Regions from separate parts of the Homo sapiens genome. Here all the other regions are linked to region 2. Evidence: promoter capture Hi-C in 16 types of primary human blood cells and fetal thymus (Javierre and others, 2016). All regions are on one chromosome and are shown on one strand. Each heading gives the region's core, a stretch centred on a gene start or on the middle of the fragment in contact. The rest is flanking DNA. Distances are from core to core; before and after follow the strand shown. Region 1 holds the start of ASCC3 (activating signal cointegrator 1 complex subunit 3). Region 2 holds the start of SNX14 (sorting nexin 14). Region 3 holds the start of PNISR (PNN interacting serine and arginine rich protein). Region 4 holds the start of EEF1A1 (eukaryotic translation elongation factor 1 alpha 1). Region 5 overlaps CCNC (cyclin C).

Region 1 (5,906 bases), core at 1,371-3,870, about 15 Mb after region 2:
CTGAAGGAATTTACGCCTGCCCTCTTGTGAGAGTGGAAAAAACTCAAACCGTTTTTCCTCTGCTCTCACACGACAACCATCAACACAGAAGATGTCTGTGACAAAATGTGTATGAGTTTCTCCCCATGCACCAAGCAAACAATCACTTCTGCAGCAGACATCAGATGAGTGTTCTCCAATTCATTTCTGACACTATCTAGAGATACTGTCATATCCCACAGATTGAAGGCCCAATCCCACAAGACTGCCCACCACTTCTGATGCCAATTACAAGCTCCAGGCTTTTTTATCTGTACTTCTGACTGACCAGCTATAAATTGGGGATTACATGACCCCCCTCCTTGGGTTCGGTTAATTTGCTAGAGTGGTTCACAGAACTCAGGGAAACACGTTTACCAATTTATTATAAAGGATATTACAAAGGATACAGATGAACAGATACATAGGATAGGGTAATTTATAAGGGAAGGGAATTTCCATGCAGAACTTCCAAGTACTTCCTGGGCACACCACCTCAAGGAATCTCCACATGTTCAGCTTTCAGAAGCTTTATGAACCCTGTCATTTTGAGTTTTTATGGAGGCTTCACTACATAGGCATAATTGATTAAACCCTTTGGCCACTGGTGATCAACTTAATCTTCAGCCCCTCTCTCACCTCCCTAAGCAGTTAGGGGGTGGGGATGAAAGTCCCAACCTTCTAATAATTCCTTGACCTTTCTGGTAACCAGCCCCCATCCTGAAGCTACTAGGAGCAGCCAGCTAGCTAAGACAAAATTCTTAGTCAATTCATTAGCATACAAAAAGGCAAAATGGGGCCCGTAATCCCAGCACTTTGGGAGGCCGATGCAGGAGGACTGCTTGAGCCTAGGGGTTCCAGAGATACACAGGAGATCAATCAGACCAAAGTGAAGACTGGAAAGAAACTGATTTCTACCTCAAAAGAAAAAGCTTTTTATTTATTTATTTTTTTTGAGGTAGAAACTGAGGTAGAACTGTGAACTTTATATTTAAACAAGCTTTGAAAAAGAAAAACTTACTCTTCTGAAATGGCAAACCACTGGTACATATACTACTTTTTGATCAAAGGCAATATCAAATCATGCTGTTAAAGCAAGATCATCTGTTCCCCTTTCAATGCCAATTACATATATACATTGACAATAACTTTTTCTTTTAAAAGCTTTGTTTTGGTTAACTACAGATCCATGGCATGAGAAAGAACCCTAGTCAAGATTCTGTCTTAAAAGGAGGCTGCTGGATTATAGAAAGTTCATGAGCACAGAGACTGTCTCTCTCTTGCTCTCCTAGGCCTAGCCCAGCGTTTGACACATAGGAAGACTTGAATGAATGAATGACAAAAAACTGTTAAGCAGGGATCAAGAAAGCTGAACCATGAAAAATTAATTTCTCATATAAATAGGATTATTTAGCCTAAGCTTAAGAGCATCTTTAAGGATCATTTTTCTCATGCAAGACTATTATAACCATCATTAAAAAAAAGAGACAACATAAACTGGAGCACAATCCATAGTAAAACCAAAAGCTTAATTCTCAACATTTGAGAACTTTGAGAATCAGAAAAAGGATTTCAATCTATGAAACATAAAATCTGGTGATGGAGAAAATGGCTGTCAATCTCACCTAACCTAGGGAAAGAAAGAAAATGTAACCATGAGTTTGAATGCACAAGTGACAACACATCAAACTTTTACCAGCCCCTAGAATTATGCTTCTTTTAAACCAAAGAATAGCAAATACCATTAGCACACTGCATTCCATGAGTAAGTTAATTTATAAGAAACCTATTTGAAATGACTGCCCAGTACTCACAAAACCTCCCTAGCACCCACATACACATTTATTTATTTCAAAATGACATTATAGGCTCCTTGATTGCGAAATTCACCCACAATCCATCACGGTCAGCTACCTATTTACTTTCCAGTGTGTTGGGGGAAAAATATGAGGAAGATTTCTTTCCCCAAATCTACGTGAAGAAAACGAAGTTATCAAGGCTTTGTAACAGAAAAAAAGAAAACAAATTACCCATGCATGGGACAGAAAAACCTCATCTGGTCACGTTGTGGCTTAACACTTGGACAATATGTAGCTTAGGTTAAGTTTTCTATCCCCAACCCCACCTACAAACTCTAGGAATGGGCGGTATTGTTGCGAGACCCCGGACTCGACCTCATGCCACTGAAAAGGATGACAGGTCGGGACTTGCCCCGGAGGCAGGAAGAGAATCTCTGGCGGGTCGCGTAGCCCGCCTCGCCGTCCCCGCCTCCAGCCAGCTCCCCTGGCCGCGGCGACCCTTCTCGTCCTCCCACCTCCACCTCCACCTCCTCACCTCTCGGCCTGGCTCACGCGTTTCCCATCACTCTGTCAGCTCCTGCCACCGCGCCTTCTTCCCTTTCGGTTTTACTTTAACTTCCCACGCCGGGTGAGGAGCTGAGCGCAGGGCCAAAGATGCGAGCGGGCAGCTGTATCGCCGCGCCCCGTCCGCCCTCCAAGCCGCGCTTGCCGGGGTCGCGCCCAGTCACAGGGAACCGCGTGTGAGGACCATCAGTCAGACAGACAGACGCAAAGACGCACAGACCCGGCGAGGAGGGACAGAGTGGAGCTGGCGCCGGCCTACACGTCACCGCCCCGCTGCAGCGCCAACGTCGGCACGTCGACTCGTCGACTCCGGGCCCTCTGCCCCGCCCGCGTGCGCGCGCCGCTCCGCCTCCCGCCTCCAGCCTCTAGTCCGCTGGGTTCGGAGGAGCAGAGGCGGAAGGTCCCGGCGGCGGCGAGGATGCGCCCCAGGGCGGGAGCGGGACGCTCCACTTTACCCTGGCTGCCCGCAACGGGCCAGGCCTGCCGTCTCTACCTCTCTACCTGTGAGTTTTTTCCCTGCATTTACTTCAGTCTGCCGCGTCTTCTCCCCGCCCTTCTCTGTAAGGTAAATATGTGGAGGAAATAATTCCTATTAAAGGTAAAGGAAAGGAGAGCAATTTGAATGAAGAAACAGGTAGTTGCTATCGTCGTTTTCAGCCAAAGCCCTCTGGCTGCTAGAGAGTATACATGGTTCTCTGGTGTCAAGGCCTGTTTTCCATAAGCTTTCTGGATTCTCAGCTTAGTTCCCTCAAAGTGATCTCTGCAAGTCGGCTCTTCGGTCAGAAGACCTCCTCCAAAAACAGAAAGCCCAAAGATTCCCTAACTCGATTGAAAAGATAGGAAGATACGAAGAAAAACTAACCTAAAGAATTGTGTGGTTTATCTGCAAAGAGTTCTAGACTAAAAGCCAACAATGCAAAGATAGTATGAGTTAATATGTTTGTTGTGGCTCTCTTCTGCCATTCCCGCTTCCTCAAGGTAATGTGCCCCGATGCCTGGTAGAACTGTTTTGTAGAGGCAGCCAATAGTGATCCAGTTATTGTCTTTACTGGTCAGACCACCTCTGAAGTGCTGTGTTCAGCATTTGAAGACTTTAATCAAGCTGGCATTATATCAGGGAAGAGCAAAATGATGACGAGAACTCAAAAACAGGGCAAGTGAAGAAGGATTGATTAAACCTTCCAGGACTCACCTAGAAGAGAGAAAACTACTGGACTCTCTCCAAATATGAAATGACCTATCATGTGAAGTTGATTTGTTTCATGTGATGCAAACTTCAGGGAACAGATTTAAGATCCTGAAAAGAAGATGCCCTTGTAGCACGACCCAAAGAATTGCCTACCTTAGCATGTGTGAATACCTCAACCACAGAATTTTGCTTCAAGGAGATTCTGAAGCTCACTTAATAGGGACTTGGTACAGGGGAGCCACACATCAACAGAATAATTAGTTGATGGTTTTGTTAAAGATATTTCCAGTCTTGAGATTACATGTGTCTTTGGTCCTGGACTTCATAGAGTTTACAAGTTAGTTCATGAGACAAGACAAATGCATCACAAAAATAAATAATGCAAGGAGGCCAAGTGATAATGAGAGGTGCTGATAAGTGCTAGGAATTCACATGACAGATTATTCCCATCACAGTTCCAGAGGCTTAAGGGAGAAGAGAGGAACTGAAAATAGACTACCTAGAACTGCCCTATCCATTGGGGTAGCCACCAGTTAAATACGTCTCTTGACATTTGAAATGTGGCTTGTCCAAACTGAGACATGCAATGAGTCCAAAATGTACACCAGATTTCAAAGACTTAGAAAACAAATGTAAAATATTGTAATTCTTATGTCGATTACATGTTGAAATAATATATAATGGATCAAATAAAATATGTTAAAATTAATTTCAACTTTATTTTTACTTTTTATGTGACTTCTAGAAAATTTTTAATTACATAGGTGGCTTGCATCATATTTGTATTACATAGTCCTGGCCTGGAAGGAAATTCAGTTAGCCCTCTGTATCCATGGCTTCTGTATATGTGTCAACCAACTTTGGAACAAAAACAATTGAAAAAAAAAAAAAAAAAGAATGGTAATGTCTGCATTGAACACGCACAGACTCTTTTTTTCTTGTCATTATTTCCTTAACAATATGGATGTAACAACTGTTTACATAGCATTTCCCATTGTATTAGGTATTATAAGTAACCTAGAGATGGTTTAAGGTATATGGGACAATGTGCATAGTTTGTATGCAAATACTATACCATTGTGTGTAAGGACTTGAGCATCCTGGGGTTTTGGTATGTGGGAGTGTCCTGGAACCAATCCCCTGTGGACACTGAGGGATGGTCTTACTTCATTGAACTCTAAGAGCTATCTTTGTCCTCTTTATAGTCCCCAGGGTTTCCCCATTTTTTTTTTCAAGAGATGGGGTCTTGCTGTATTGCGCAAGCAGAAGTGCACTGGGTATTCACAAGCATGATCATTGTGCACAACAGCCGTGAACTCCTGGGCTCAATGATTCTTCTGCTTCATCCTCTCAAGTAGCTAGGACTACAGGTACCTGCCATCAAGCCCAGCTTCCCCAAATGTTAGTGGAAAGACAACCTAATGAAAATGGCCCTGATGACAAAGAGAAAGACCGTCCAGAAAGTATGCCATGAGCAAAGACAAGAAACAAGACTATAACTGCATTCTAGATAATGAAAACCTATTTATCTGTAATGGAACATTGTTAATAGAAGGTAGTGACAAAGTTAAAATGTAAACAAACTAGTCTATAAGGAGACTCAATTTTAAATTTAAAGAATTGAGTATAATAGGCAGTCAGTGTTTGGCAGTCACAAAATGGGATTGGGAGATTACTTTGGCAATATTGGGTAGGGTGGGTTGAAATTAGTGCATGGCTGGGAAACCAATTAAAACTCATTGCAGTGGGCTAGGCGCAGTGGCTCACCCCTGTAATCCCAGTACTTTGGGAAGCTGAGGCAGGAGGATCACTTAAAGCCAGAAGTTCAAAAGCAGCCTGGGCAACATAGGAAGACCCCCATCTCTACAAAAAATAGAAAAAAAATAGTCAGACTTGATGGTACATACCTGTAGTCCTAGTTACCAAGGAGACTGAATTTGGAGGCTCTCTTGAGGCCAGGAGTTTGAGGCTACAGTGAGCTATGATCATGCCATTCAGCTCCAGTCTGGGCAACAGAGCAAGACCCCATCTCTAATTGAAAAACAAAACAAAACTCCACATTGCATTTAAAAATATATCATATGGCTGGGTGTGGTGGCTCACAGCTGTAATCCCAGTACTTTGGGAGGCTGAAGCAGGTGAATTGCTTGAGCCCAGGAGTTTGAGACCAGCCTGTGCAACATGACAAAACCCTTTCTCTAAAAAAAAAAAAAAAAAAAAAAAAAATGAAAATTAGCTGGGTGTGGTGGCATGCACCTATAGTCCCAGCTGCTCAGGAGGCTAAGGCAGGAGGATCACTTAAGCTGGGAGGTCAAGGCTACAGTGAGCCATTATCG
Region 2 (5,927 bases), core at 130-2,629:
CACCAAAAGCAAATCTGGTGTTAATTTTAATGGAAAAGTCTCCTCTACTACCTATTGCATCGCAACAATTTCTTGAAATAGTAAAATGAAGTAAAACAAGTTTATTTCGGGGGCAGAATCTTCTGATTTCAAAATGTCAATTGAATTTATCAATTTTAACCTTTCGGAATATTTCAGGTTTTTTTGGGGAGGGTGGCATCAAGTCCTCTTAAGAATATTATAGGGATGTGGCCGGGTGCGGTGGCTCACGCCTGTAATCCCAGCACTTCGGGAGGCCGAGGCAGGCGGCTCACGAGGTCAGGAGATCGAGACCATCCTGGCTAAAACGGTGAAACCCCGTCTCTACTAAAAAAAAAAAAAAAAAATACAAAAAAATTAGCGTGGTAGCGTGGTGGCGTGGTGGCGGGCGCCTGTAGCCCCAGCTACTCGGGAGGCTGAGGCAGGAGAATGGCGTGAACCCGGGAGGAGGAGCTTGCGGTGAGCCGAGACCGCACCACTGCACTCCAGCCTGGGTGACAGAGCGAGACTCCGTCTCAAAAATAAAAAATTCTAAGGATGTTGGGACGGGTACCACTTTGCTTTCTGATTTCTGTCCAACAAATCTTTATGATCGTCTGTTTTATTCAACAATACTGCGGGAAAAGCTTCAGCTGCAAGCTGAGGGGGTGGGAGGTGGGGAGATGGAAGAACGCGCTGCAGGTGTGCGGATTCTGCCTAAAATTGCGGCTACGAACTGGACCTTGAACACTCCTCCGTCAGCTGACTTGACTGCCTGTGTACAGTCTCAATTTGAGCCGACACACGGATTTCACTTTTGAAAAGCAACGAAGATGAAGAACTCGTTTTGAGAAATGGATGAGAAAAAGGTAGCTCAGGAGACGAAGCCTCGGGAAAGGAGGCAATCAACCCCACCCCACCGGCCTGTGCTTCCGGCCTCGACGCTCCGCCGTGCTCCCCGAGGCCGCTCCTCTGCGGAGCTCGCTCTCCCCACTGGTCCCCAGTCCCGCAGCTACGCGGCCTCCGCACGGTTAAGCAGCACGGGCCGGGCGTCTGCACCTTCGGAGAAAAGCCGCCGCCCAGGCTCCGCGCTGCGGCGTTACCTGTTAAGAAGCAGGGAGGCGGCGCTGAGACAGAGCAGCAGGAAGCAGAACAGCGGGTACTGGCGGCAGATCTCGCGTCCCACGTCCAGTCGCAGCCGCTGCTTCAGCTTCTGCCCCATCGTCCGCACCCAGGGCACCATCTCCGTAACGGCGAGGCCGAGACTGCGCTACTGGCTGAGGCAGAGGTCAAGGCGACCCCCCATCCACACCTCGCGTCCCCGCCCCACCGACTTGGCGGCGCACACAGACGCCTACCGGCAGTTAGCCGCCGCAGGCTGAGGTCGCGTCCGGCTGGGCCCAGCCCCACGCCCCCCGCCGCGCGTGCGCGGCCGCGGTCCCCAGCCGACCAGAGGAACGGCCGTAGAACGTGCCCGAAGTCGTCACCCAGCGCAAAGCCTCTAGCGTCTCGCCGCTCCGCCCTCCTGGCCGGAGTAGCGCGCAGTCTTCCGTGGAAACTCTGACAACACTGGCGACCGGCCATTTCCGGAAATCAAAGGACAGCCCCAGCACCCAGTAACTGCCTGTATTGCGGAGGAGAGGGAAGAAGGTTGTAGGGAGCCCGGAAGAAACTACAGCACCCCCGTAGCCGCCGGGCGCTGCCTGAGGGGCAACCGGAGCTCGTGGAGCCCGCTGGGAACTGTAGTCTTCGTGACACGAACCCGCAGAGGGATGGAGCGGGTGGTAGCGCTTCCCCGACCCCGCAACGCTCCGCGCCTCACCGTACACTCGGCTCCGGGTGGGAGCAGGTCCGAGCTTTGCGTGACGCCTAAGGGAGAGGGGGATAGGAGGACGCCTTTGAGTCGGTATTTTAAAAGGGGTGTGTTGGGGGCTGGGGGGGTGGCGAGTAAAACAGCCCTAGAATAAAGACTACAACTCATCAGGCCGCCACCCCACCAACAAAATCTCTTTTGCGCGCTCACGGGCAAGGGTAGAGCTCAATTCACGCCGGCTCCGGGAGCCCAACCAAAATCCGAGTGCTTGGAAGAGGCAGGTTGGCAGATTAGGTAAAATCCCTCTTATAGAGTCTCATGGGGTTTTCCCTTTACTAATTCATCACATTTCTAAATTTTTTTTTCTGTATTGTCCGCTACAGTGAGAGATGCAGGAAGACTATTATCGCGAAAATTTACTTAGGCGGTACAGACACTAAGCACTTTCATTTGACCTTCATGCATTCACCCCATGGTGTAGGTACAGTACTATAGTTTCAATCATTATACAGGCAAATTACTGAGACAGAAAGGAACTTAGGATCATAAAACTAACAAAGCCGGAATTTGAACACGTTCTAAAGACAGAGCCTGTGCCTGTCATCTCTCTTTCCTAGGATCTTATCCTTCAAAGTGGGGAAACAAATGTTTTTTAATGATGTATGTAGTTTCATGAATATTTTCCCGTATTACAAAAACATGGATCTTTAATGATGCATTATTATCCTTTATCAGAATGTACCATCCTGTTCCATTATTGCTAACCACTAAAGTCCATTGATATTACCATCCTTGATGATAAACCTATGCACATTTCTAATTATTTAGAATCAACTTTAATACAATTACTGGGTCAAAGGGTAAAAACAAACATTCTTGATACAGTCAAACTGCTTTGTAGAATGGTGGTACCAACTCCACAGTGGTGTATAAAAGTAAACAATTTCACTGATCCTCACGATTAGCTATTATTGTCTAAACATCACAAATACACTTTTCTGTTTGTGACTAAACCATTTAAAAGACTACAGTGTAACATCATTGGAAAGCTTACCATTTTTTAATATTTCTAGGTACATATTTAAACATTTATTAATTTCACTTTGGCAGTTTTTAAGTATCTTTATCTGTTAATACTAAAATAGGTGTATGTTGAGTGGATCTACATGTATCAAGTGCCTCCTATGGACTTGAGTGCTTTACACTTTTGTAAATTACCTTTTAAAAAACTAATCTCATGACAAATAATGTAAGTTATTAACCTGCCTGGTAAATTATGTTGCCTTTTGTTTAAAACTTTTGCTTCCTTTTAAAGCCTTATTTTGAAATTACTCTTTTCACCAAGAGCCAGTATATTTTAAAGACAAAATGTTTTGAGTTCTGTTCAAAACAGACATCACTACAACATCCAATTAAAAGACTTCTTTCCCATCTGATTTCTTAGAGGCAATTAGAATAAGTTAACTGGACAATAGATAATTTAAATTTCCAAATTGCTCTTATGATTAGAAAAGGAAAAAAAATATAATAAACTTCAGCCATAAGGAAATTCTTTATGGCAGAGAATTTCCACACCTAAAGCATGAAACATAATTCAATTTCTGTCACTACGGACCTCATCTAAGGAAATAACCTTTATTTCATTACATGTCTTTAGCCTATGGTCTAGAACCCACCTTTACACGCACAGAGCTCGAAATTTTTTCCCCAACCTTGTTAAGTTCTGAACTTTGGAGAGGTTATATGGAATATCCACAATCAACCAACCCTGGTTCTGAAACTAGCTCTATCTCCTACTAGCAACATGTTAGCAAGATTAACTTGATCTATCTCACTCCTACCTCAACTCTAAAACAGAGCTATTTTCATAAAACAGGTGGGGGGTGGGGGCTAAAATGGGTGGAAAGTTGGAAAGTGCCTCTTAAATATCTCTGTACAATGCTTAAGACAAAATTTTTTTTTCAAATTTTATGGCTTTATGAACATGACAATAATGAGCTAAACCAATTAGCTTTTATTTGGATTACGACAATCTAAAATGAAAATGACATATTAAATACCTGATTTCTAGGAAAACTGAGGTCCAGAAAGGCTGACTGCCTACGCTAAAGTTCTACATCTGCACTGTCCAATACAATAGTCAGTAGCCACATGTGGCCAGGGAGCACTTGAAATGTGGTTTGTTGTGATGTGTAAAGTACCTGTCACATTTCAAAGACTTACCATGAAAACTGTATTAAATGTAAATTAAAATTAGTTTTAAGGCAATTACATATTAAATGTTTTGGAAATAATTGCCTTAAAGTATTTTTACTTTAATGTAGCTAGAAACCTTAAAATTACATATGTAGCTTGCATTATATTTCTACTACACTGTACTGTTATAGACTCTGCTAGCTGTGGAGAGCCAGTACAATTAAATGTGTAAATCTTTTATAAATGCTACAAAGGTCACATATGTGCTAGGTGTACACTGACAAACTATAAAAAGTTAAAAATTTGATAATGCATTTAAAGGGCTCATAGACATTAAACTGCAATCCAGTAATATGTCCATTATTTTAATGAATATATTTATTGAATAGCAAATAAGTGTAAGGCACTGTGCTAGATGTGGTGGCAGATACATTTAGATGCATTTTTTTCTGACCTCCAAAGGCTTACAATCTAGTGAAGCAAACAAGTCACATAAAATGTTATAAAGGGCAGCGGTTTTATACATAAAGACTGTAATCTTTTTTTTTTTTTTTAATGACAGTTAATGGCAAAAGGGAAATTTTTAGCTATAAGGATCTGGAAAGGCCTGTGGGAAATAATGTGAGCGAAGAATAGGACTTATCTCTGTTTTCACTTATAATTTTCAAAAGTCATGAAGTACTAGGCAAAGTTTCCAAAATGCTTCTACTTAATTTAACCTGATTCTCCCCGCCACACCAGCAAAATGCTTTTTATGTTGGTACAGTAAGTTTGCAAGGTAATGATGAATACCTGAATTGCAGAAATTAGGCCTAAACTCTGATGACCCTTAATGTAAACCACATTTTAACGTGTTGAGGGTCATTATTTGTATGGCACAGGTATATCGGGAAGAGGATGGATATACTACCCCTGGGAGCCATTTCAGTCTCTCCCTTACAGATGCCTCCTATCACATGACAGGCATTTTCAAAGCCCTGTTTTTCCCTTGTCTCAAATGATCATGGTTTATATTTCACCTTTTGTGGCATCCCTAATGTTATTTTTACATCCTTAATTTTACATTTCATAGCACCCTCTTCTCCCCCACAACCTATCCCTACATATCAACCTCTTGATAAACCTGTTAAAGAGGCCACTGAACTGCTTTCTTCAAAAAATGTTCCTTTCCTTGGTTTTCAAAACAGGAATTTATTACAATGGAAAATATGTAATTCAAGGAAGAGGAACATTAAGTAATTTTTATGAGTGGAGGGTCTGAGATGTTCAAAATGCAGTTATTTTCACATTCAACCCTCTTTTATTTTTATGGCCATGAGGTAAAACCTCCATTGGGAAAATACAAAGAACTAACAATGTTATAGAGCCAGTGGCTCAACTACAGATACTCCCTGGGTAAAAGCCATGTTTTGATCATAAAATTCTGGATGGTCTCATTATCTTAGTACCAAAAAATTAACCATTTCATATTTGTAGTCGTTTTTCTAATTTATGATGAAATAGCCATCCTCTTAAGCCTCACTTTTGGAGAAGCAGGAAGCTACTTATAATTTGAGAAAATGTAAATTAATAACTGCTTGGAAACGGAAAATATACTCACCTGTTGATTAATATTAACGATTAGAAAAAGCACTTATAATCCAACATCACCTTTCTCTTGTAGGCCAATGCTTTTGTTTACTTTTTAAATTACCCCTTAAATAAGTAAAACACTCCATCTTATTTCTGAACTACAGACAATGGTTTCCTCTCATTAAAAAAATGTTAACTGTATCCCTTCAAATGTTTAAATACACATTTCAACTGACTTCACTAACTTCATAAAATATTTTGGAAAAACTTTGCAATCCTTCTTACCTCTCACAAGCTATTTCCCAAAACATAAAAATTAAAGCTCTTCACTGTTGTCCTAAAAACCACC
Region 3 (6,053 bases), core at 1,266-3,765, about 14 Mb after region 2:
GAACCCGGGAGGCAGGGGTTGCAATGAGCCAAGATTGTGCCACCACTGCACTCCGGTCTGGGAAACAGAGTGACACTCTGTCTCAAAAAAAAAAAAAAAAAAAAAAACTGGAGAATTGGAGAGTCGGTTATAAATACCCCCCCAATAATAATTTAAAAATAAATGTAGCGAGAGCGCCCAAAATGACACCCTAGTAGCAACAAGCACACCTAGGCACGAGAACTTGGTTTTAATACCATTCTTCAATAAAAGGAATCAGAGATCTTTAAAGAAATAGCTGACTCTAGGACTGCGACAGGAAATATAAAAGATGAGTCTGGGGCATGTATACTGCCAGGAAGCAATAAAGTGCTAAAAAAAAAAAAATTGATAGGAACATGTCAAAGGAGAACAGTAGACAACTCGAAGAGCTGCCAATGGCCAAAGCTGGTACAATTTGAGCAACAAAATAAAGAAGTACTGGATTATAATATAAGTTATGTAATAAACATCCACAAGCCCATAAGGATATGATAAAATAAACTAACAAATAAATGTGAGGGAAGACACAAATCTCCCACAGAGAATTCCAAATAAATTATGTAAATATTCCACCCTAACTGAGGAAGAGCACAACTGTCCATTCAGTAAGCGTGGGCTCTGCAAAGTGACTTCCTTCCAAAGAGAACAGTATAAAAAGGGGTGGGGGAAGTAACTTTACAGTGGATAAATCTAACAAACGCTACTCCAGAAGGATGATCAAGGTCAGTAATAATGTGATAAGTCACCTTGATAGTATGTATCCTTGATAGCATGTGTTGAAAAGGGCATCTTACCTCTGTGATCTTCCCCTGATATAGTCCGTAAGGCCATTTTAATCATGAGAAAATCGTCTGGCAAATTCCAATAGCAGGGCACCCTACAATATACCTGACCATACTCCTCAAAAAATGTCAAGGTCACTGTATTAGTTTGGTATGCTTGCCATAACAAAGTACCAAAGACTGGGTGGCTTAAGCAACAGAAATTTATTTCCTCACTGTTCTGGAGGCGTATAGTGTAAGCTCTATGGGGTTGATTTCATTCTAAGGCCTCTCTCCTTGGCTTGTGGATGGTTGTCTTCTCCCTATGTCTTCACATGATCATCCCTCTGTATCCTACTCTCTTCTTATAAGGACAGCAGTTATTAATATATTGGGCTAAGGTCCACCCTAGTGACCTCATCTTCTTTAAAGACCCTCTCTCCAAATACAGTCACGTTCTGGGGTACTGAGGTTAGGACTTCAAGATACGAATTTTAGAGGGGCACAAGTCAGCCCTTAACAGTCATCAAAAACTAGTTAAGCCTGAGAAACTGTCACAGCCAAGAATATACAGCCTAAGAATATACAACAACTAAATGTAATGTGATATCCTAGCTGGCATCCTGGAACAGAAAAAGGACTTTAGGTAAAATGTGAGGAAGTAGGAATAAACTATGGACCTTAGTTAATAATTTATCATTATTGGTTCATTAGTTGCAACAAATGTACCATACTAACATCTATTAATAAGAAGATAAACTGTGTGTGTAGTGGGGACGTCGTATGTGCTCAACGTAAACAAAAACTGTTCTAAAACATAAAGTCTATTAGTAAGTTAAAAAAAAAAACTCTCAAGAACATCTTTAAAGAACTGTTTTCTCTATAAGCCCTTTGCCACTTTACAAAAAAATTCCACAAGTAAAATCTTTAGTAGTCTGGTTGCTGTTGTTTTCGCCCTGCTGCACTCAAATGAGGAATTCTAAGTTTATTTTGTTTTACTTGGGGGCAGGGGGAAGTAAAAAGATGTAAAAGATTAATGTTGAATTAAAATCTTAAGCTAGAATGTTAATTTAACAACCCACAAACAAATTTGTCTAATGCTCAATTTGTTCAGATGACGATACTATCCACCACAGGGTAAAAAACTGAAATATTGGATACTACCTTTAGCGAAGCTTAACACATAATATCCATCATTGGGTAAGAACACACGAAAAACACAAACTAAGGAACTGCGCCTGCGTAGTCAGAGCCTCAAAGGGTATAAGCTCCAGGTCGCGAGCCCCCGCCTCCTCCGCCCCCATGAACCCCCTTCCCACAAGGGGGTTCCCACTGCGCACGCGCAGTGTTTAACGGCCGGTCAGGAACCCAACAATTAGTCCCTTCTCGTCCGAGAGGAAACTCTGTGAGAAGATGGGACCGTGAGCACTCTCTTTAACAAGGACATTTCCTTTTCAGCGAAAGCAGCGCTCTGATTTACCAAGTCTGGCGGACCGCAGCGCTTTAAAGGAATGAGGTTCCAGCGGTCGCGCCAAGCAGCGTACGCAGCCTATTTTAAGTTATGCTACCTTCGCCACAGAAACCAAGAACGTTGTAATGGTCCGGCAAGTGCCCACGTATAATTGTTCTCCATCACTTACCCACTCTAGTTCGGGAACACCCTTGTCGCCGCCGTTCCGGTAACACCTCTCCAACGCTTTCGATGCTTCTACTTCTTCGGGAACAAGACAAGATGGCGCCCGATTTGTCTCACCCGGAAGTAAAGAATAATAACATCCGTTTGTCATCTGAAGCCATACCATCTCTCATCCAGGTTTGTGAACACGTGATTGTGCGGATTGACATGTTTCGGCGCCATTTTTTTTGTGGGCAAAACCATCTCTACTCTGGTCAACACCGGGCAACTGAACCATTCCTGCACGTTACTTTTTAACGTAGCTGGCGCCATTCCCGACCCATCTTTATAGTGGCCAGAAAGCCAAGAACGTAAGTGTTCTACACATAGGGCGCCTTCAAATTTTTTACTTTAGCAACGTGATCTTCCTTTAAGGGGAAGTATGTTCCCTCCTAGAAACACTCCCGCCTTGGAGAAGGGGTTGAGTTCGCAACTCCACTTACAGACTACGGAGGAACCCCAGGGTCAAACCAAACCAAACCAATTCTGGCCAGTTGCTTAGCGCAGTTCAAGTTACTTAGTGCGCTGGAAGCGGCATTTCAGGCAATCCAACTTCTGGCTCGAACCTTCTCGGAGTATTCCAAGGATGGAATACTCTCACTTGAGCGCTGCCGAGGGTGCCGCTTGAGGAAAACGTGAGTTTGTGAAGGTGAGCAGTCTGGGTCGGTAGCGAAAGCGGAGACCTTAGCTGACCCCGCAGCTGTCTTTCTCTTTGTTAACCTCAACACATCGCGCCCCCTTCCGGGAACACTTGCTCTTCTCTCCTTGGCTTAACTAGTCCCGGTTTTTCATTCTTTATCCGTGACTTTTAGGGAACCGTGGGGGGGAAGTCTGGTTTCCGTCCTGCTGCTTTCCTTCAACTACAAGATGGCTTCTCAAAAGGACGCATGCAATGCCATTCCTCAAAGACAGTATGTTGATTTCACAGTGTTTTTATATGAACAACGTTCAAGTGTCAAAAGTATCAATTTCCAGGCTAGGAGCTACAAGTTAAAAGGAAAACAAAAATGTTCCAAAGATACAGTGTTTATTAGCTACATCTTGGGAAGTGCCTTTCCAGAGAGTAACATGAAAACTTCTGCGTGACAAAGTGCACGAAGTATCTGAATTATTTCATTGGGCAATTGTCGTGCAAAAGAAATAGCAAATTACCGTAGAAACAAAATAGTAAGAGCACAGCTAGATGGATAAAGATACAGATGTGAAAATATAGATGCCCTTTGCATGAAAATTCAGTTTTCCTCAGCACTAGAGACCCAGATACTCCTGAATTAGCATTATAATAAAGTCGTCACTAGCTAACCATCTGCCTTTCCTCCAATCCACGGACGTGGTCCTCAAAATAACATTTTATCTTGTGAGAAACCTTCATTAATTACACCTAACAACACCATGACGCAGGTTCATGAGGATACTACTGAAGGCAAAAGGAAATCCCTATTTCTCTGACCCTTTCCCTAATTTCCACTTAGCACAAATAAGACTACTGGACAGTCTGATTTTAAAAAATCACTGTATGGGCCGGGCTTGGTGGCTCCCGCCTGTAATCCCAGCACTTTGGGAGGCCGAGGCGGGCAGATCACTTGAGGTCAGGAGTTCAAGACCAGCCTGGCCAACATGGTGAAACCCCGTCTCTACTAAAAATACAAAAATTACCTGGGCGTGGTGGCAGGCGCCTGTAATCCTAGCTACTAGGGGGGCTGAGGCAGGAGAATTGCTTGAACTCAGGGTCAGAGGTCGCAGTGAGCCGAGATCCCTCCACTGCACTCCAGCCTGGGCAACAGAGTGAGTCTCTGTCTCAAAAGAATAAAATAAATAAAAACCACTGTATGGAGCAAAAACTAGAAGGACATATACCACATGTTATCAGTAATCTCTAATTTTGCTCTGTGATTTTGTGCATTTTCCAAGTTTTTTGCATCAGGTCTGATTTTCAAGTTTAATTCTCTGAGAAACATTCTCATCAGAGGAATGTTCTATCTTCTTAGAGAAACCTGATTGGCCTAGTGAAACTGTCATGTTCCTACTCTCTATAATCATATTGTAATTCTTTGCTTGTTTCCCTAGTAAAGGTGAGGCAATTTTCGGGTAAGGGATTTCCCCCTCACCTCTGCCCTCCAAGTGGCCAGCATCTGCTTTGCACACAGAAATTTTTACATCTGCTATATGTTTGCATTAATATGTTCAACAATGATCCTAATGTAGGCCAGTCATTTTGGAAATGCATTGTGAAGTGGAGAGGATTATTAAATACCTCACATTTTGTTCCTTGTGCCAGTTTAATGAGACACCCTCAGCAATTGCTATTTACCAGACCAGAAAATGAATTTTACAGTTCCAATTCCAGTTCCCTTTCTCTAACCACTCTGTTCTAAGAGTTCCCCGTAACATTATGATCTTATGGACACATCAGGTAAGTGTATGTATTTCAACACAGAATTTTCTAAGAATGTGTGTTGTGGTGTTAAATTTCTATGTAAGCAGCTGTCACGTGCATGATCTGCTGCAGTTTGATCATCCTGCGCCTGGATCATCAAATGCTTAGCAGCCATCATTTTACCAGTCTTATCTGACAATCTGCTGTTAATGACTAACAACCAGGGGACTTTATAGGTTAAAATTTTTATTAACTTCCTCTGTTTTCAGTGTTTAAAGTAGAAAATTTGGCCAATGTGGCTCACGCCTGTAATGCCAATACTTTGGGAGGCCAAGGAGGGTGGATCACCTGAGGCCAGGAGTCTGAGACTAGCCTGGCCACCATGGGGAAACTGCCTACAAAAAAATACAAAAATTAGCTGGGTGTGGTGGCCCAGCTACTCAGGAGGCTGATGCATGAGAATCACTTGAACCCGGGAGGTGGAAGTTGTAGTGAGCCGAGATCGTGCCACTGCATTCCAGCCTGTGCTACACAGCGAGACTCTGTCTCAATGAATGAATGAATGAATGAATGAATGAATGGAGTGAAGTAGAAAATTCTAGGGGAGGACATGTCACCTTCCATTATTACAGAAACAAATTATCCTTAAAGCAAAATGGAAATAAGCTAAGTAAGATGATATGTGGAAAATATATCGAAATAGGAACTATTGCTGTTTCTTGAGATTTGAACCTTTATAGTGTTATTAGGTGCCATATCACATCCATCTTAAAACCTAATAAAAATTTAAAGCTGTGGTATATATATACAATTGAATATTATTCAGCCTTAAAAGGGAATGAAATTCTGATACATGCTACAATATGGATAAACCTTGAAAACATGCAAGATGAAATAAACCAGACACAAAAGGACATATATTGTACAATTTCACTTATATGAAGCGCCTAGAATGGGCAAATTCACACAGATGGAGAGTAGAATAGAGGTTCCCAGGAGTTGGGAGAAGGCGGGAATGAGAAGTTACTGTTTAATGGGTACAGAGTTTCCGTTTGGGATGATGAAAGAATTCTGGAAATGTGAATGCACTTAATGACCCTAATTATACACCTAAAAATGGTTAAAGTGGTAAATTTTATGTTGTATATATTTTACCACATAATACAATGGAGGATGAAAAATATTTAAAGCTAGTATGCTACAGGCACATCATTACAAA
Region 4 (5,934 bases), core at 1,054-3,553, about 12 Mb before region 2:
GCGCAAGGGCTTGTCAGTTGGACGAGTTGGTGGTAGGATGCAGTCCAGAGCCTCAAGCAGCGTGGTTCCACTGGCATTGCCATCCTTACGGGTGACTTTCCATCCCTTGAACCAAGGCATCTGAAACACAAGCATGCCAATTTGTGTAAGCATGAAATCGCCATTCCCAGAGCTTTTTAACAATGGTCTTGAAAGCCACTTACGTTAGCACTTGGCTCCAGCATGTTGTCACCATTCCAACCAGAAATTGGCACAAATGCTACTGTGTCGGGGTTGTAGCCAATTTTCTTAATGTAAGTGCTGACTTCCTTAACAATTTCCTCATATCTCTTCTGGCTGTAGGGTGGCTCAGTGGAATCCATTTTGTTAACACCGACAATTAGTTGTTTCACACCCAGTGTGTAAGCCAGAAGGGCATGCTCTCGGGTCTGCCCATTCTTGGAGATACCAGCTTCAAATTCACCAACACCAGCAGCAACAATCAGGACAGCACAGTCAGCCTTTAAAGAAAGCAAAGACATATCCCTGTCAACTCTCCAAATGACAAAACCAGTGTACAAAGCAAGCCTTTTGGGATAAAGAAACCTAGAATTATTAATCCCACCAACCTGAGATGTCCCTGTAATCATGTTTTTGATAAAGTCTCTGTGTCCTGGGGCATCAATGATAGTCACATAGTACTTGCTGGTCTCAAATTTCCACAAGGAGATATCAATGGTGATACCACGTTCACGCTCAGCTTTCAGTTTATCCAAGACCCAGGCATACTTGAAGGAGCCCTTTCCCATCTGTAAGGATTAAGAGTCGTTACTTGGTTACTAAAACACAAACTCCAGCTTCAATTTCCTTGTCCCCAGCCCTTAATTGGCAGTTTCCACTTTACAACTCCAAGTCCAAAGTGATTTTAGTCACTTTGGGTTACAGAAGCAACCAAAAATCAAACTTTTATAAGTCGGATCTTAACTATTAACATCCAAATCTACTCACTAGCAATACGATTACAGAAGTCACCAAAAGCAAAATTATTTCATAAGTAAGGTCTTAACTATTAGCATTCAGATCTAAACCACTCACTAGTTCTGGGGAAATCACCTAATGATTCTGCTGGTAAAACTCATTTTAGTTGATCTTTCCCTTTCTGGTATTAAACATACCTCAGCAGCCTCCTTCTCAAATTTTTCAATGGTTCTTTTGTCGATGCCACCGCATTTATAGATCAGATGGCCAGTAGTGGTGGACTTGCCCGAATCTACGTGTCCAATGACGACAATGTTGATATGAGTCTTTTCCTTTCCCATTTTGGCTTTTAGGGGTAGTTTTCACGACACCTGAAATGGAAGAAAAAAACTTTGAACCACTGTCTGAGGCTTGAGAATGAACCAAGATCCAAACTCAAAAAGGGCAAATTCCAAGGAGAATTACATCAAGTGCCAAGCTGGCCTAACTTCAGTCTCCACCCACTCAGTGTGGGGAAACTCCATCGCATAAAACCCCTCCCCCCAACCTAAAGACGACGTACTCCAAAAGCTCGAGAACTAATCGAGGTGCCTGGACGGCGCCCGGTACTCCGTGGAGTCACATGAAGCGACGGCTGAGGACGGAAAGGCCCTTTTCCTTTGTGTGGGTGACTCACCCGCCCGCTCTCCCGAGCGCCGCGTCCTCCATTTTGAGCTCCCTGCAGCAGGGCCGGGAAGCGGCCATCTTTCCGCTCACGCAACTGGTGCCGACCGGGCCAGCCTTGCCGCCCAGGGCGGGGCGATACACGGCGGCGCGAGGCCAGGCACCAGAGCAGGCCGGCCAGCTTGAGACTACCCCCGTCCGATTCTCGGTGGCCGCGCTCGCAGGCCCCGCCTCGCCGAACATGTGCGCTGGGACGCACGGGCCCCGTCGCCGCCCGCGGCCCCAAAAACCGAAATACCAGTGTGCAGATCTTGGCCCGCATTTACAAGACTATCTTGCCAGAAAAAAAGCGTCGCAGCAGGTCATCAAAAATTTTAAATGGCTAGAGACTTATCGAAAGCAGCGAGACAGGCGCGAAGGTGCCACCAGATTCGCACGCGGCGGCCCCAGCGCCCAAGCCAGGCCTCAACTCAAGCACGAGGCGAAGGGGCTCCTTAAGCGCAAGGCCTCGAACTCTCCCACCCACTTCCAACCCGAAGCTCGGGATCAAGAATCACGTACTGCAGCCAGGGGCGTGGAAGTAATTCAAGGCACGCAAGGGCCATAACCCGTAAAGAGGCCAGGCCCGCGGGAACCACACACGGCACTTACCTGTGTTCTGGCGGCAAACCCGTTGCGAAAAAGAACGTTCACGGCGACTACTGCACTTATATACGGTTCTCCCCCACCCTCGGGAAAAAGGCGGAGCCAGTACACGACATCACTTTCCCAGTTTACCCCGCGCCACCTTCTCTAGGCACCGGTTCAATTGCCGACCCCTCCCCCCAACTTCTCGGGGACTGTGGGCGATGTGCGCTCTGCCCACTGACGGGCACCGGAGCCTCACGCATGCTCTTCTCCACCTCAGTGATGACGAGAGCGGGCGGGTGAGGGGGCGGGAACGCAGCGATCTCTGGGTTCTACGTTAGTGGGAGTTTAACGACGGTCCCTGGGATTCCCCAAGGCAGGGGCGAGTCCTTTTGTATGAATTACTCTCAGCTCCGGTCGGGGCGGGTTGGGGGGGGTGGTGACGGGGAGGCCGCCTGGAAGGGACGTGCAGAATCTTCCCTCTACCATTGCTGGCTTAGCTCCAAAGGTTGTATTGAGATTAGGGTGTACCTTCGCCTCTCAATCAGCCTCCCGTCCTCAGCCTTGCCATCTCGCTAGTCCGGGACAAATCCCTAGAGCGTCTTCCTCTGCGGGTCTCAGCCCAGCCCGGGGTTGGCTCCTCCTCCGCCCCGGCTTCCGCGCCCCTCCCGTGTGGCAAGGAGTACCAGGCCCGGGGACCCCGAGGGGCTTGGGGCGAAGGGTCGGGACTGGGGGCCTCCTTAACGGCTCACGGACTTGCGAGAGGTTCGGCTCGATGGCCGTGAAAGCGACGAATCCGCTCCTGTGCTGGCCTCTTGGCTCCTTCCATTCAAAGCCAGCTGCTTTTATGGAAGCCCGTAACACGTCATCTCCCCCTGGTACTCCAGATGTCCAGGCTTTCAGTTTAGAATAGACTCAGTCCTACAGTTAGCTTTAGATCTAATTCTAGTTTTGTTACGCCAAAAAGTTCCTGCGAGTGTGTGTGTGTGCCTCATGGTACTTTTTAAATTAAAAGGTGTACAGTTATTTGATTGCAAACATAAGGAACCTAAAATGCTTTCAGATTTTCCACATGATCTCATGTAGAGGCTAAGATCTACAGCATCAGCAAGTTTATCCACCCAGTTTCCTAACCCCAACACTTGCTATGAAGTCACAGCTTCTCCTATTTAAATAAGTGCCTATTATATTTAAATAAGTGCTGTCGTTTTCTGTCATCCTATCGATTGTAACTGCATTTTAGCATAAATCTAGGGCAAGATTGGATGAGCTTGGCCTTTTTGGATGGCTATCAAGGCAGGCCTTGGGAAATGCTCCTCTGAGGAAAGAAGAACGTTTATTTTTAATGAGCTAATTACTAGATCATTATGTTTCTTCTTCCAGCTGTAGAATATCATTGCCCAGCTTCTCGAACAAACTTATTTATTAACAAGTATTTGAGAACCTACTATGTGGCCAACGCTAAGTACTGTGGAGTTCCTTCTGGAGAGGAAACCACAATCAAATTGGAAGAGGAAAACAAGTTGGGAAGCAGTTGAAGGCAAACGCTATGGTGCTTTCTTGGTTTCTGTATCTTTGTAGTGTAGTTTTTCTAGTCCTTTCAGTTTTCACAGTCCACTTTTTTTTCTTTCTTTCTTTTTTTTTTTTTTTTTTGAGACGGAGTTCTACTCTGTTGCCCAGGCTGGAGTGCAGTGGCGCGATCTCGGCTCACTGCAAGCTCTGCCTCCCGAGTTCAAGCGATTCCTCCTGCCTCAGCCTCCCAAGTAGCTGGGACTACAAGCGCGCCCCACAAATTTTTGTATTTTTAGAAGAGACGGGGGTTTCACCATGTTGGCCAGGCTGGTCTCGAACTGCTGACCTCAAGTGATCCACCCGGCTCGGTCTCCCAAAGTGCTGGGATTACAGGCGTGAGCCACGGTGCCCGGCCACAGTCAAAGTTTTTCCTCAAGCCCCTGTGATTGCGGATAATAGTAAACGCTTTATAAATACCTTACACAGAATGTTTTTTAAAATATCACGCAAGGAATGACAAAATTACATGAATCCTTGATTTATACCTAAGTAACATATTGTGCAACACAGACTGGGTGTTCTGAATGTTGCGATAGTGGCCGAGACTTTCATTAGGTGAAGGGAGATCTCAATTCTCGCGTTTAAGAACCAACACTGGACCGGGCGCGGTGGCTCACGCCTATAATACCAGCACCTTGGGAGGCCGAGGCGGACGTATAATTTGAGGCCAGGAGTTCGAGACCAGCCTGGCCAACATGGTGAAACCCTGTCTACTGAAAATACAAAATTAGCCGGGCGTGGTGGCGCATGCCTGTAATCCCAGCTACTTGGGAGGCTGAGGCAGGAGAATCGCTTGAGCCCGGGAAGCGGAGGTTGCAGTGAGTCAAGATCACGCAATTGCACTCCAGCCTGGGCGACCGAGTGAGACCTTGTCTCAAAACAAAACAAAAAACCAATACCTTTGAGCCCATCGGAGCCATATTATTGTGCGTTAGGGGTAGTCACTGGCCACGAGCATTTTCTCAGGGCAGAGATCACATTTCTGCTCTCAGTGGGGCCGGGGTGGGCCGGAAGCCGGAGAGGGACTGGAACGCCGGTCCGGGGAAGCCCCGCGCGCACCGGGGCGCACCCTGCTTCCTAGGGAGGGAGGCTGGGGCGGCAAGGCGGGCGCGGGTGGTCCTTGCCCCGCGCCAGCTCGCCAGGCCACGTCGCTGGCGTTTTTCCAGCGCTGGGTCACCTGCGGGCCGGCGGGTTCCCGCGGCGAACAGCTGGGTGGTATGGATACGCCGCTCGAGCCTCCGCAGCGTCAGGTCGCCAGGGTCCGCCCTGCCACTCGCCCCACCTTGAGGTAACTTTTCTTCCGCCTTCTGACTGCGGAAGGAAGGGCCTGGGAGGAAGCAGAAAACCTCACGTGGCTCGGGGTGAGGGTCGGTTTTTGTCACCGTGAGCTGGCCTCTAAAAGACTTTTTAAGTCCCAAGTCTTCTTTTTCTTCTTATTTTAAATCCCTTTTTCCCCAGACCCTATGTTTTCAACATAATCATAACGGATTCCCCGCACCCCTACGCCTTTACAGAGATCCAGTATGCTTTTTACTGCCTTAAATGTTAAAGCGGTAACAGTAACGATGTTGAGGCTCGTAAATGTGTTTTGGGGTCATAATCTAAGGTAGTATTTGCTGAAGATTTTTCTTAAACTTGCTCATAACCATTTAGAGTGACAAACTTAAAATACATTGTAAGTAAAAATCAACATGACCCCTTTTAGGAAGAAAAACAAAGATTTCAGTTATTTACATAGGAATAAGGCAAACAAGAATAGTTCTTTGAGGTACTTAATTGTGATTCACCAAGCTTTCAGTATAGTCTGACCACTCTGCTATTAGTCTAATTTAAAGCAGCCTTAAATAGTTACATTTTACCATGGCTTGCCACGTGAAAATGATTTTTAAATCTTTTCATCTGCTGTAGCTACCTCTGAAGAAAAGATGATGGCCCGGTGCGGTGGCTCACGCCTGTAATCCCAGCACTTTGGGAGGCCGAGTCAGGCGGATCACCTGAGGTAAGAGTTCGAGACCAGCCTGGCCAACATGGTGAGACTCCCGTCTCTACTAAAGATATAAAAATTAGCCAGGCTTGGTGGTGTGCACCTATAATCACAGCTACTTGGGAGGCTGA
Region 5 (5,517 bases), core at 1,255-3,754, about 14 Mb after region 2:
GAGTTTAAAACCAGCCTGGCCAAAATGTTGAAACCCCATCTCTACTAAAAATACAAAAATTAGCCCGGCGTGGTGGCACACACCTGTAATCCCAGCTACCAGGGAGGATGAGGCAGGAGAATCGCTTGAACCTGGGAGGCAGAGGTTGCAGTGAGCCAAGATCGTGCCACTGCACTCCAGCCTGGGCGGCTGAGCGAGACTCCATCTCAAATAACTAACTTTCATTACTGTCAATAGAACAAAGTGCAGATTCCTTCATTTAGCATCGAAGGCCCTCTATTAGCTGAAATTAGGTAAGGAGTTTTCCCCACTATTTCCTTACTCACCATTCAGTTAATCTAACTCATGAGCTTTCCCTATTTGACTAAACTATTCAGTGTTCTTAGACTGTCTATCTCTTGCATTTCCCCAGTTCAACTTCCTTCACCAAGTTCTACTTAATCCTTTCTGGATTCATGAAACAATCTTTTCCCACCCAAAACATTCACAGCATTCTCTGTAACTCTCTTATACTATTTATTTCCTTCTGTATTAATATTTTTATGTTTCTGTCTTCTTTTTTTGTCCTTAAATTCCTTGTATTTTACCTTGGTACCAATGCCACTGCATTGGCACAGTGTTTTCCAGTGATAATGATGTTGTTGTCATTGAAGATGATGATGATGATGATAGCCCCTAAAGTTTACCAAGTATTGTGGACCAATATATGTCCCCCTCCAAAATTCGTATGTTGAAGCCCTAACTCCTAGTACCTCAGAATGTGACTGTATTTGGAGAGAGGGTCTTTAAAGGGATAAGATTAAATGAGGACAGGCCAGACATGGTGGCTCACACCTATAATCCCAGCACGTTGGGAGGCCGAGGCTAGCGGATCACGAGATCAGGAGTTTGAGACTAGTCTGGCCAACATGGTGAAACCCCGTCTCTACTAAAAAATACAAAAATGAGCTGGGCATGGTGGCACATGCCTGTAGTCCCAGGTACTCAGGAGGCTGAGGCAGGAGAATCACTTGAACCCAGGAGGCGGAAGTTGAAGTGAGCACTCCAGCCTGGGCGACAGAGCGAGACTCTGTCTCAAAAAAAAAAAAAAAAAAAAGAAAGAAAAAAAAAAGATTAAATGAGGACATAAGAGTGGGGCCTAATTCTGTAAGACTATTGTCCTCACATGAAGAAGACAGCAAACCAGGAGTGTGTGTGCTCACAGAAAGGTCCATGTAAGAATAGCCAGACACCTTGATCTTGGATTTCCATGCTCTAAAACTGTGAGAAAATACGCTTCTGTTGTTTAAGCCACCTGTTCTGTGGCATTTTGTTATGGCAGCCTCAGCAAAGTAACATACTAAGCAAGGCACTGTTCTAAAAGCTTATATTAACTCATTTGGTCCTCATAACAACCCAACAACACAGGAACGGGTTTGCACATAGATATTAATATCTACCCATAAGAATGACATAATAGTCATTAGAAAACAATAAAATACAATAAAATTCGGAAACAGAATTTTTTCTTTACTCTTACAAGATTAAAAGCCACTGAGTTGATGTTTTTGGATTGATAATTACTATCCATTTTAACATTAAAAGTAATATCTTTATATCTTTTTAAAAAAAAACCTTTTAGCTTGATTTTTTTGCCAGATACACTAGATATAAAGTTATCCTCAGGAAATTTAATAAAGCCAACCAATCTCATATGTCTCATAAACTAAAAAAAAAAAAATCTATGTACTCTGGAGCTTTCTTTAGAATTACATCCTTAAAGCAGATATACTTTTTGCACTTACATACAGAAGTAGCAGCAGCAATCAATCTTGTATTTGAAACTACTCCAAATTCCTAAAGAAAGAAAAGCAGGTACATGTTAACCCAATGAATCTAAGGGTATCTGAACTCTATTCAAAACAGGATTTCCTTGCTCCTGTTTACAATCTGTTCACCTTCTAACTACTTGAGGTGTGAAGTACTTACACTCCTAAATGTACAGGCTGATTACCCCTTATCTGACATGCTTAGGATCAGAGATTTTTCTGATTTAGGAATATTTTGCATTACACTGGTTGAGCATCCCTAATCTAAAAATCTGAAATGCAAAATGTTCCAATGAGCATTCCTTTGAATGTCATGTTGGCCCTCAAAACGTTTCAAATTTTGGAGCATTTAGGATTTTCAGATTACGGATATTCTGCCTGTATTACCTCTCCCCCAAATTGCTACAACTTAAGACATATTTTAAAATAATTTTATAATTTAATAACAATAAAAGGTACCAAATTAGAAACCAAGCCTTAAGGTTACAGTGTCAGTTTTTCCATTTAAATTAGTTTCCAAGAAGATTGTTTACATTCTATACTTAATTGCAAGAATATTAAGTATGTTTCCTATTCAATTCAACCTGTATTAACAGATACTTCATGCCATTCTATGGTAAAACAGTTGAATTTGTGAATAAGATAAACCTTAATTAATCACCAAAAGAACTAAAAAAAAAAAAAAACCATATAAATAGTTACTATCCTTTTTAGAACAGGGAGACAGGAATTACGTAAGACTTCCAAAGTCAGTTCCCATTTCCTCTTTCAACTGAACAACCACCATTGTGAAAATACTAAAATTTATTATGATCCACCTTATATATACTGTTTCATTTATTGCCTCGTAAGATTTCTAAAGCCTTCACTTCATTTTAAAATAAAAAAATCAAGAGTTGGTTTCTTATCCAACAAAAGGAGCTAAACTAAAAATCTATTTAAATACCTTCAGCCTACATCCTTATCCTGTGTAGGGGAAATGTATGTGTACTAATATATTTGTTTTACATTTAAACCTCCAACTATAATAACTGAAAAGAAAAAGTAAAAGCCTGAGACATGTTCTTAAATGAGCTTTCCATACAATTTCCATAAAACTAGAGAAAATACAGAAAGATTTGGTCACAGAGATAAAAAAAAAATAATAATAATGCTACGACCAAATCTGAAAGACTACATTCTCTTTCTCAGGAATAATTCTTTTTTTTTTTTTTTTTGAGATGCAATCTTGCTCTGTCACCCAGGCTGGAGTACAGTGGCATAGTCTTGGCTCACTGCAACCTCCACCTCATGGGTTCAAGCAATTCTCATGCTTCGGCCTCCCTAGTAGCTGGGATTACAGGCATCTGCCACCACATCCGGCTAATTTTTGTATTTTTAGTAGAGACGGGGTTTTGCCATGTTGGTTAGGCTGGTCTCAAACTCCTGACCTCAGGTGATCCACCCGCCTGAGCCTCCCAAAGTGCTGGGATTACAGGTGTGAGCCACTACACCCGGCCTAGGAATAATTCTTTATCCAAAACTCAAAGGGAAAACTTTCATTCAGTAAATCACATCACAGAGTTCTACTCAGTAAATCACATAACAATATTTAACAAGTAAGATAGATTAAAATCCTCAAATTAATCTACAAGATTAAATGTTTATAAAGATTTTTTGTCTTGGTCCTCCATACTGCCTGTGCTTAAGAGACTTTAAATTATTACATGGTAATATTTAAATAAAATCAAATATTACATAGAATTATTAGAATTAGAAAACTCAATCCATAATAAGGACCTTAACTGATTCTGCCTTCTTAAACTACCACTCACAATTAGAAAACATAAACTTCTAGAAAGCTTGTCTTAATATTATTTCTAACAGAGTCAATTGTCATTATTTAGGTAACAGTTGGGAAAGATGTCATGGATAACCTTAAATCATGGCTAAAACAAAACTAAATCAAAGTGGGTGCCAAAAGGAATGTAAACTTACTAGGTAAAAATCACATTCAATATTCAAGAATACAACTCTAAGAATAGAACTCTAAGACATTATCCAAAAATAGAAACATAATGCAAAGATTTCACACCACCAAAGACTACATTATTTATGAAAAACAGCCAATATCTGCTATTATTTTCTGGACTTTAGCTGAGCTCTTTCAAAAATACTACAAAGGTAAAACAGTTGAACAGAAATTCAGTCTCTGCCGCAAGTTCCTATCTATCTTCTCTCCCTTACCTAATTTCTCTACGCTCACAACCTCAACTTTTACTTGTTAGACTCTATATAGCTATAGCTTCCCCTAATCCTTGCCTTCCTTCTGGCTTGGTAGGCAGCCAATCATCAGGATGATGGGAGGGAAGACAGGAGAAGATAAGCATATGGGTGAGAAGCATAAGGGACATTCTCAGGTTATGGTAGGCAAGCTGTGGTACTTACTGAATACTACTCAGTGCCAAACAATAGATGTCTCAAAGGCAGCAGAGGAAAGTAGTTAAGAACACAGGATTGGTAACGAGACTCCCATGGTTCAAACACGGGCTCTCACACTTACTAGCTATATCATCTTAAGCAAGTTCTTCATCTCTGTCTCAGTTTCCTCATTTATAAAATGGGAATACTACTACTATGTATTCCAGTTTGTTACAAAGATTAAGTCAGTTGGTACACAGTAAGTGCTGTATGTGTCTGTTAAGTGAATATATAAGGATATGTATATATTTCTTTGATTTTGTACAATTTTAGTATTTTGCATAAATTACCATTTATTAATTTTACATAGGCCATGTGAAAACTGGGGCAGATTAACCAACATACATTGACTACACTTTGATGAAGAACAGAAAATTGTTTTATACCTCTACTTTGGATGCCAAAAACACACATGTAGGAGCCATTAATACAGGATCTATACTTTTCAGAGAATACCTAAAATATGATAAAACAAAGTTAAATATCATTCATACAGAAAACACACTGGGAAAAAAATCAAGATAACTCTATGGTAGACACATGATTCATTTACACTGTGCTAAGGTTCATCAACATTAGATAAGAGTTCAAATAAATAAAATAAAAACAATCCTACCTGGCATAGAATCTCTTGAAATATACCGTAGCAGTGGCAATAACTTGTTGTCTTAATTTAAGATGTTCACCTAATGCTTGGATAACTAAAAGGCAAATAATGAAATTTTAAATGTATCTTCTGGTATCATTATAATATTAACATTGAACAGTAACTTCCATGTGGTTAAATCATAATTATGTTCATTTTTAACAAAGGAAAAAACCTACACATGCTCTATGTGAGTCACAGTGGTCTAATTCTAGGATTTGCAAATGTGTTAAGAAATATATAGGTATGCATAAACAACAACAAAACAACAACAAAACAGAAATTGCCCCACAGGAAAAAATTATTCATCCATTAAGGAAGTTGAATAAATATTTCCCCTCTATCTTCTAAATATTTTTAATGCTTTTCATAGTATCTTTATAATAAATATAAAAAGAAAATATTAGACACCTATGAAACTTGTTAATACTACCACTTTTTTTGTTGTTTTGAGACAGAGTCTCGTTCTGTCGCCCAGGCTGGAATGCAGTAGCACGATCTTGGCTCACTGTAATCTCCACCTCCCAGGTTCAAGTGATTCTTGTGCCTCACCACGCCCAGCTAATTTTTGTATTTTTAGTAGAGAGGGAATTTCACCATGTT

What was found. Contacts are between HindIII fragments. The CHiCAGO score rates a contact against its expected background, and 5 or more counts as called.
Region 1: the fragment with the promoter of ASCC3 here is called in contact with the fragment with the promoter of SNX14 in region 2 in 1 of 17 cell types (total B cells); the score reaches 5.0 in total B cells.
Region 3: the fragment with the promoter of PNISR here is called in contact with the fragment with the promoter of SNX14 in region 2 in 2 of 17 cell types (activated CD4 T cells and total B cells); the score reaches 5.9 in activated CD4 T cells.
Region 4: the fragment with the promoter of EEF1A1 here is called in contact with the fragment with the promoter of SNX14 in region 2 in 2 of 17 cell types (non-activated CD4 T cells and total CD4 T cells); the score reaches 8.6 in non-activated CD4 T cells.
Region 5: a contact is called between a fragment that was not itself captured here and the fragment with the promoter of SNX14 in region 2, in 1 of 17 cell types (monocytes). The highest score is 6.6, in monocytes.

What each region holds. Positions count from the first base shown.
Region 1 is chr6:100,878,709-100,884,614 of GRCh38, forward strand. ASCC3 (activating signal cointegrator 1 complex subunit 3) reads right to left here and starts at 2,621. Exons shown (of 42, transcript NM_006828.4): 1 at 2,353-2,621. It overlaps LOC107984041 (a long non-coding RNA gene), which reads left to right and starts at 2,749. Exons shown (of 8, transcript XR_007059692.1): 1 at 2,749-2,946. RefSeq lists an enhancer at 2,465-2,584. The HindIII fragment of the contact is 1,558 bases long and covers 1,544-3,101 here.
Region 2 is chr6:85,592,479-85,598,405 of GRCh38, forward strand. SNX14 (sorting nexin 14) reads right to left here and starts at 1,380. Exons shown (of 29, transcript NM_153816.6): 1 at 1,101-1,380. The coding sequence starts at 1,240. RefSeq lists enhancers at 1-456, 457-1,040, 1,041-1,624, 1,073-1,242, 1,553-1,672 and a silencer at 1,303-1,522. The HindIII fragment of the contact is 2,215 bases long and covers 643-2,857 here.
Region 3 is chr6:99,422,793-99,428,845 of GRCh38, forward strand. PNISR (PNN interacting serine and arginine rich protein) reads right to left here and starts at 2,516. Exons shown (of 12, transcript NM_032870.4): 1 at 2,423-2,516. It overlaps PNISR-AS1 (PNISR antisense RNA 1), which reads left to right and starts at 2,079. Exons shown (of 3, transcript NR_125843.1): 1 at 2,079-2,322; 2 at 2,432-2,595. RefSeq lists enhancers at 1,817-2,337, 2,158-2,627, 2,319-3,518, 2,338-2,857, 2,858-3,378 and 3 more and a silencer at 1,994-2,174. The HindIII fragment of the contact is 21,108 bases long and covers 1,956-6,053 here.
Region 4 is chr6:73,518,729-73,524,662 of GRCh38, forward strand. It overlaps EEF1A1 (eukaryotic translation elongation factor 1 alpha 1), which reads right to left and starts at 2,304. Exons shown (of 8, transcript NM_001402.6): 1 at 2,272-2,304; 2 at 1,155-1,328; 3 at 609-788; 4 at 204-500; 5 at 1-120. The coding sequence starts at 1,298. EEF1A1-AS1 (EEF1A1 antisense RNA 1) reads left to right here and starts at 4,883. Exons shown (of 5, transcript NR_187283.1): 1 at 4,883-5,107; 2 at 5,728-5,818. RefSeq lists enhancers at 642-1,464, 1,422-1,721, 1,465-2,286, 2,012-2,121, 2,172-2,251 and 1 more and silencers at 2,832-3,061, 4,769-4,908, 4,949-5,128. The HindIII fragment of the contact is 5,848 bases long and covers 1-5,608 here.
Region 5 is chr6:99,556,713-99,562,229 of GRCh38, forward strand. It overlaps CCNC (cyclin C), which reads right to left. Exons shown (of 12, transcript NM_005190.4): 3 at 4,885-4,969; 4 at 4,655-4,724; 5 at 1,785-1,836. It also overlaps the pseudogene TSTD3. Among named protein-coding and RNA genes, the nearest start is that of CCNC, 9.2 kb to the right of the region's middle. The HindIII fragment of the contact is 2,286 bases long and covers 1,362-3,647 here.